Regions from separate parts of the Homo sapiens genome. Here region 2 is linked to region 1. Evidence: promoter capture Hi-C in 16 types of primary human blood cells and fetal thymus (Javierre and others, 2016). All regions are on one chromosome and are shown on one strand. Each heading gives the region's core, a stretch centred on a gene start or on the middle of the fragment in contact. The rest is flanking DNA. Distances are from core to core; before and after follow the strand shown.

Region 1 (4,116 bases), core at 957-3,456:
CAAGACTCCATCTCAAAAAAAAAAAAAAAAAAGATACCCTTTAATAATACAGAAATTTTCAAAAATAATAACTTATAAAAAGAGTTTACAGGTATTACATTTCAGGGTTTTTAAAAAATACACATTTTTGGCCGGGTGTGGTGGCTCACACCTGTAATCCCAGCACTTTGGGAGGCCAAGGCTGGCGGATTATGAGGTCCGGAGATCGACACCATCCTGGCTAACACAATGAAACCCTGTCTCTACTAAAAATACAAAAAATTAGCTGGGCGTGGTAGCGCATGCCTGTAGTCCCAGCTACTTAGGAGGCTGAGGCAGGAGAATGGCGTGAACCCGGGAGGCGGAGCTTGCAGTGAGCTGAGATTGCGCCACTGCACTCCAGCCTGGGCGACAGAGTGAGACTCCATCTCAAAAAAAGAAAAAAAAAGAATTAAAAAAAATTATGGTCCTTAAACATTTTTATTTTTTCCAGAATTGACTATTATGCAAAAAATATTGCTGTCAACCATTCTAAAGAAAATATCTGATGATGTCACTCTCCTGTTCAAAAATCTTCATTGTCTCCCTATTGCCTTTTAATTGCATTCGGATCTCTCCCTGAAGCTGCCCTGGCCCTGGTGGCCTCCCCTTCTGCTACTCGTCTTCACAGCCTGCACTCCTATGCGGGGAGCTGCTGCCTTCCTTCATCCTGACCTCCTGGAAATGCCTTTTCCCCAGACTCTACTTGTCCAGAGCCCAAGCAAGTTCCCCAATATGAAGAAACCTCACCCTCCCCTGAACGCCCAGCGCATTTCCCCAAAGACCCATCTCAGTTTCCCTGCTGCTGTTGGATCCAGGCTGGTGGTGCCTCTATCCAGTGGCTTAGTTGGAGCACCTACCTCTAGATTTTCTCACTCACCCTTCAGTACCTGAGACCAGATGGTGCCGTCCAAGTAGAGCACCCAGAGCCCTAGACCAGGACACACATGCTCTCTGATCCCTCTTTCTCCCCCTTAATGCTTCCTTATCCTCTGCAATAGTGTGGGCCAGCCAGATGCCCTGAGGATCACCAGGACTCATGTCTACCTGATCATCCTAGGAGCTGATCACTCTCCCTGGACTGTTTGGTATTTCTTTAGAAGGACCACATGAGATTGGGCCACCAGAATGGTGCTGCCATGCCGATTTAGGGTGACTCAAATTGTTTATACAAGCAAGAACTCTACCAAAAATATTTGCCCAGGACCCTCACCCTAGGGTGGCCCTGTCAATTTCTATTATGCATTGCACATGCCTTAAAAGGGTCCTGTCTTAATCATGTCTGCATCCCTTCCCCACAGTGGTGCCTATTTTAGCGCCCGTACGTAATAGAGACTCAATATGTATTTCTCAGCATGAATGCTTGAAGGAACAAGTAACATCTCAGGTATACATATTTCTTCTGATCCATGGTTCTAATCATGTTTTCCTTGCACACATTTCTAGATCTTCCTCATTCTGAGTAGCAAAAAAAAAAAAAAAAAAAAGGAATTTTCACATCCTCAAACCCTCCAGTCACTGACCTGACCATTGATGTCCTGAAAACTTATCAAGAAAGAACAAATGTGCCTCCAGATTCTCCCGAAACCAAACTGCAACTGGACTTCAACTCCAACACATGTGAGAATGGCCGAGTGTGGGAATGCTAGTTGAACCGTCTCAAGGTAGGCAGCCCCATAGTTTGGATTGAACAATGCTTTGGCTGCAACAAACTGTAGTGATAGGACATATGTTCATTGCGCTGTGCTTTTGATCTTCAGCTCCAAGGTTAAGATGCTCTCCCACGGGGAAAAGAAAAAAGGAAGAAGAGCTGGGCAGAAGAAAACTGACTTCACCCGTCACTGAAATACTTCATACCTGAAGCACAGCTCTCTTGCGAGAAGAACATGATGGCAGCTCTTCACAGTCACCTAATTAAGGGGCTTGGGTTGGGTCCTGACTCAGAGGGAAATACAACACCACTGAGAGGAACCCCCCACAGCACCTGAGCACTCACAGCCAAGCCTGGGCTTGGCCCCAGTAGACATATGAGAACAGGTGACTGCCAGAACCACCCAGAGGGCGGGAAGCCTGCTGTTGCCAGGTCCACCATGTGAATCACAATGACTGCATGAGGTCACAGAATGTTGAAGATGAAATGAAAGTGGCTCCTGAGTCACAAAGTCACAGGCGGGTGGGGATCCTTTCAACAGGGCTCCCAGCAATAGAGCAGTCCCACTCTCCCAGATGAGCTGGAGAAGTAGCTACCTCTCCCAGACAGAGTTGGGGTCAAATTCATGCACATCCAATTCCCATCAAAGCCTACTCTTCCCAGGGCTTGCTGGGAGGGAAGGATAACTGCAGGCTCCCCTGGGATGCCCCCAGGTGAGGGAAGTTCACAGAGTTTGAGACAGAGGTGAATGGACAGGTGTGCTTCTTAGGGAAGCAGTCGAGAGGTGGCAAGAAGTTGGCAGCTGCCCTCAAGAGGGTCCTGGCACCATGGACAATGACAAGCCTCTTCAGCCTGAGACAGAAGGTGAAAGGGCATCCCATCTCTCACCACTCAGGCCCGTCCCTGCTGCCTCAGTACAACACCTAGTGATCACAGGACCCTGAAGCCCACTTCTTTCCTCACCTGGGACCCTCTAGAAGTAGGATGATTTGTTATACTGACTTGGGTTCAGGCCTTGGCAAACAGGAAGAATTGGCTGCAGTGCTATGCCACAACTACCTCATACTGGCTCTAGCCAGCTTTAATTTTTATTGTGTGGGCCAGTTGATACCACATTTATAGTTTGAAATCAGTCACATTGGGAATATTTACACCACATGAATTGGCTAACACTATAAATCAGGATGTTTTTGGTGTTGTTTGTTTTTTTTCCTGGAGAATCAATTGTTAAAATTTACCAGCATTCTACTGGTTGAATGGAATTCTAAATTGTTTGACAAGGAAATTAACACTCAGAAATTCATCACTTTTCTAAGGGCACTCAGCAGTCTGACAGCCAAGCTGTTGTCTGTCTTCTAACTACCAGGCCACTGCTACCTGCACTGTGTATCCCAGACAGTCTGGGAGATAAATGTTGGAACCTGGGTCTATGGACAAGGATTAAGAAAGACCTGCATGGACTCATTAGGAACCCCACCATCCTAGAATCTGGGTGGTCAAAACTTGGGACCCCTGCCACAAATGCTCAGCCCACCCAATGAGTAGGTTGGCTAAATTCTGACAGGTCATTCAGAGGCATGGCATGGCTTCTTGAAACTACTGAGTCCTGTCAGTGCCTAAGGATTGAGCTCTGGATTTTATGTGTGGCTTCCAGAAGCCCATGGCTTTCAGGAGCCTATGGCTGATCCCAGGTCAATGGCCCAGAGGTGGTAAAACCACATCTAGCAAGTGCAGAGGACTGGTGTGAGGGGAGCTCTGTTCCCAGCAATGAATATGATTAATTCATTACTATGAATTAATCATAGTAATTCATTTCGACCCAAGGGAGATTTTCAAGCCCCTCCTTCTTCCTAATCACAAATCAATGTTAGATTGGAAGGAAGAGAAGCTAAGTCAAATTCTTAGGAATCAAGTTCTCTCTCTTGCTCTCTGGAACTGCTCCTGGTCCATTTTATTTTCTATTTGACCTAAGTTGTCACCTCCCCTGCCCTGCCCTGCCCCTTATACTCCCTGGCACCATTTGTGCCTGACAATAAGGAAGCCTATGTATCGGGACCCACCCTTTCACCTGAAAGAGTAACAGCACACCCCAAAACCCACCCAAACACTTAAGAATGGGAAAGTGTGAGCAAGGAGCCGATCTCCAAGGCACGCCTCAGACAGGGAAGGGGGAAGGAGCAGCCGGTCTCCAGGGAGCAGAAGGGAGTTGGTTTCACAAGCTCCCGTAGACCCTGCAGCCGGAGGCAGCGCTATTGGGGAAGGGAGGTTTGTAGAGTGGACTTGCCCTGGCAGGGCTTGGCACCTTGAGGACCTGGGACTCAGAGGAAGGGAGCAGAGATGGAGGGGCGGCAGCGGCAGGCTTTATTGGGAGGCCAGCAAGTTTTATTCCTGGCATCAAGGAGATGAGTTTTTTCTTCCAGATGAGATTGAAATTGAGCCAGTACGAC
Region 2 (4,260 bases), core at 650-3,149, 230 kb after region 1:
TAATACACCACTCGTCGGGACAGGATTGCAAAGGGGGCCTGGGGAGGTGAGCCCACTGGAAAACAATGTGTGCGCGCCCCCTGCTGGCTGCGAGCAGAGGTCCCGCCTGTCCGCTGGGGGTCTTCAGGTGGTTCGTGTTAGCACCACCTGCTGCTGCCGGGTCAATTGACCCAATATTCACAGATCACCCCCCAGGTGTCAGGTACCCCGCCAGGCTTTGGGAGGGATGCAAAATGAGTGAAAGATAAGCTAGGTTTTTGGAGCCAACTAGTTTTGGTGTCGACCACGCATGGGTTCAAGCCCAGAGACTATCAATATCTGCTTGAATGTTCATTCATTCAACAGAAATGGTTCTGCATCGGGATATAGCAATGAACAAAGGTCCTGGCATCGTGGACTTGCGGTAATCTTAGACAGAGAACATAATCCCTCAGAGCTTCAGGTTCTCATCTGTAGCATGGAAGACTTCTCTACTCCTTCCCCTCAAACCAGAGGGTAGAGACCCTGGGTATGGATTTCAAGGTCGCTGTCATTAGTAGGAACTAACAGTCACCACCAACAGCCATCTCTTCTCAAAGGAAACCTCATCCCTTTGAGCCTGGGCTGTCATTCATTTGGTTCATTCTGAAGGGACCCTGTCATGCCAATCTCCCCAGGCTCTCCATCTACCAGGAACCCCGGAAGACCCCCGCCCCAAGCCATTCTGCTCCAGGGCAATGATAGAGCCCTAACCTCTAATGAGAGGTCATCAGAGTGGATGTGGGAGGATCGTGCAGTTACCCTGCAACTTTCTCTCCAGGTGACACATGGGTATTTCTCCTTAAATTAATTGGACTGGTTAGCCTCAGTGCCAACCTGGTAGGAACCATCGCCTGCCCGGATTCCTGTTCTCCCCCAGACCACTGGGCAAATCCTTCATGGTTGGTAGGGCTTTAAGGGCTAGAAGAGGATAGGAAATATGTTCTTGATGACTTTTTATTAACATCCAATTTTCTACTCCCCATGGCCTTCATTACACACACACACACACACACACACACACACACACACACACACACAGCAAAGGTGAGGATTGGAAGCCAGTTGATGCTGGAGGAATGCTTTAACACCCCTATCAACACACAACCCAAGTCGGGTCCAGCTTATTCTTTCAAGATGTCCACAGTTTCACCCCACGCTCAGGATATGTATGGGTGCGTGTGCTTTTGTACACACTCATATAGCAAACTTTGAGCTATAGCCAGGTACTAGGGCAATATTAGTAAACAAAATAGACAAACACAAACACAAAATCCTGCCCCACTGGAGCATACATTTGTGTGGGGGGGGCAGGGGGGAGTCTGGGATAGAAAAGTAAATAAGCAAGTAACATAAACATGATGTTTGAGGGTAATATGTGTTATGGAGAAAACTAAAGCAAAAAAGAGGGTGCCCCAAAATGAGTGGGGGATTTTAAATGGGGTGGTCAGGGAACGTCTCATTGAAAAAGTAACATTTAAATAAAGACCAAAAGGAGATGAGAGAGTGAGCTATGAAGCTATTTGGTAGAAGAGGGTTCCAGGCAGAAGAAATGGCAAACTCAAAGATACTGAAGCATGGTCAGAGAGGCTGTCCTAGTGGGAACAAGGAGAGAGGCGATGGGAAGAGGCAGGAGGTGTTGGGCTCTATTATTAATAAATTATGGTCAGGGGTCCCCCAATCCCCTTTTCCAACCAATATAGTTAATTTCATCCCTTTTCTTAAAGTTTTGAAACTAATACCTGTCTTGTAAACAAGCCATGACAAAGCTCTATTTAGAGAAATATGGTGGGGAGAGGCTAATCAGGGTAGATTTCCTGGAGAGGGAGGTTGGCTGACTTCTTCTCTTTTCAGGTGAAGAAACCAAGACTCAGAGACAGTCAATAACTTGCCTAAGGTCACAAAGCTAGAAACCGACAGAGAAGGGCTTACATCCATGCTTATCTGGTTTAGAAGCCACTGCTCTTAGCCAGGGTGCTGCCATGGTGACAGGCCATTTCCATTAGAGGAGAATGATGGCTGTTCATCTGAGGACCTGGAACAACACGGTCTGCGTGGCCATCACTCAGTCAGGGCAGAGCATGGGTACAGAATCGTGGCATTGTTTGGCTGAGAATCATAGATTCTCAGTGAAGCACAGGCAAGGTGCCAGGCCCCAGGCATGGGGTTTTAGATGCATGATCTCATTTAACTCTCATTTTACAGATCAGGAAATTGAGGCCTGTCACGCTTCCTGATCTTGTGTGTATCAGAACAAGATCATAACAATTGACTTTCAAAAATTAGTGGCTTAAGGCCAGGCACAGTGGCTCACGCCTACAATCCCAGCACTTTGGGAGGCCGAGGCGGGCGGATCACCTGAGGTCAGGAGTTCAAGACCAGCCTGGCTAATATGGTGAAACCCCATCTCTACTAAAAATACAAAAATTAGCCAGATGTGGTGGCAGGGCCTCTAGTCCCAGCTTCTTGGGGCTGAGGTAGGAAAATCACTTGAACCTGGGAAGTGGAGGTTGCAGTGAGCCAAGATTGCGCCACTGCACTCTAGCCTGGAAGACAGAGCAAGACTCCATCTCAAAAAAAAATAAATAAATAAAAAATAAAAAAGGAAAAAGTAAATAAAAATTAGTGGCTTAAAACAGCAATTTATTATTTCTCATGATTTTGTGAGTCAGGAATTTGGGCAGGGCTTGGCTGGGTGGTTCTTCTGCTCCATGTGGTGTCAGCTGGGGTCACTCAGCTGCATTCAGCTGGCAGCTGGACTGGGAGGGAAGGGCCAAGAAGGCGTCACTTACAGGCCTGGCACCTCAGCGCTCCTCTGCATGGCCTCTCCACGTGGTCAGCATGGTGGTTTCAGGTCAACTGGATTAATTACATGGCAGCTGGGAATTATATTTCATCCAAGGGAATGAAAGCAGAAGCTGCCAGACTTAGGGACTAGCCCTGAAGTTGGGACAGTGTCACTTCCACCACTTCTACTGCCCCAAGCAAGACACCAGATCAGCCCAGATTCAATGGCAATGATGTTTTGCAGCCTGGCTGCTCCATCACAAGCACTCCTTGCTCTGGCTCCCTCTTCTCCCATCCTTTGCCCAATCCAATATAGCAATGGCAATGATGTTTTTATTTGTTTGTTTTGTTTTTTTGAGACAGAATCTTGCTTTATCACCTAGGCTGGAGTGCAGTGGCACGATCTTGGCTCACTGCAACATCCGCCTCCTGGGTTCAAGTGATTTTCCTGCCTCAGCCTCCCGAGTAGCTGGGATTACAGGTGCCCGCCACCACACCCAGCTAATTTTTATAGTTTTAGTAGAGATAGGATTTTACCATGTTGGCCAGGCTGGTCTCAAACTCTCCACCTCAGGTGATCCACCTCCCTCAGCCTCCCAAAGTGCTGGGATTACAGGCGTGAGCCACCATGCCCGGCCTTTATTTTTGTTTTTAATTTAATTTAATTTTTTGTGAGACAGGGTCTCACTCTGTTGCCCAGGCTGGAGCGCAGTGGCACGATGACAGCTCACTGCGGCTTCGATCTCCTGGGCTTACACAGTCCTCCTGCCTCAGCCCGAGTAGCTGAGACCACAGGTGTGCTCCATAGCACCAGGCTTATTTATGTATTTATTTATTTAGTAGAGATGGGGTCTCCCTATGTTGCCCAGGCTTTGTTGTTCTTTGACTTGCTTCTTTCACCTATCCATATATCCTGGCAGGGTCAGGAGCAGGGTGAGGCAAGCAGGATCCTCTGTGACCCAGAGAATGGCCCTCTTGCACTCTGTGCCCTTTCTCAGTACACGAAGGTCTGCCTCATTCTTGTTTTTTTTTTTTGGAGACAGAGTCTTGCTCTGTCACCCAGGCTGGAGTGCAGTGGCGCGATCTCTGCCCACTGCAATCTCCGCCTCCCGGGTTCACGCCATTCTTCTGCCTTAGCCTCCCCAGCAGCTGGGACTACAGGTGCATGCCACCACGCCCGGCTAATTTTTGTATTTTTAGTAGAGACGGGGTTTCACCGTGTTAGCCAGGATGGTCTTGATCTCCTGACCTCGTGATCCGCCCTCCTCGGCCTCCCAAAGTGCTGGGATTACAGGCATGAGCCACCGCGCCCGGCCAGCCTCATTCTTTTTAACTCTTGCATAGTATTCTATGGTAGAAATGGAACACCATTAACCATTTCCCTCTTGACGAACCTTTAGGTTGTTTTCAGTTTTTGGCTATTACTAAAATGCTGTCTTGAAATCCTTGTAGATG

The links. The method cuts DNA at HindIII sites, captures the fragments that hold promoters and counts their contacts. A CHiCAGO score of 5 or more calls a contact.
Region 2: a fragment that was not itself captured here is called in contact with the fragment with the promoter of LRRC74A in region 1 in 1 of 17 cell types (M2 macrophages); the score reaches 5.2 in M2 macrophages.

The regions. Positions count from the first base shown.
Region 1 is chr14:76,824,202-76,828,317 of GRCh38, forward strand. LRRC74A (leucine rich repeat containing 74A) reads left to right here and starts at 2,207. Exons shown (of 14, transcript NM_001385106.1): 1 at 2,207-2,533; 2 at 4,090-4,116. The coding sequence starts at 2,497. The HindIII fragment of the contact is 9,425 bases long and covers 1-4,116 here.
Region 2 is chr14:77,053,347-77,057,606 of GRCh38, forward strand. All of the region lies in intron 1 of LINC02288 (long intergenic non-protein coding RNA 2288), which reads left to right. Among named protein-coding and RNA genes, the nearest start is that of LINC02288, 14 kb to the left of the region's middle. RefSeq lists an enhancer at 1-243 and a silencer at 55-104. The HindIII fragment of the contact is 7,363 bases long and covers 1-4,260 here.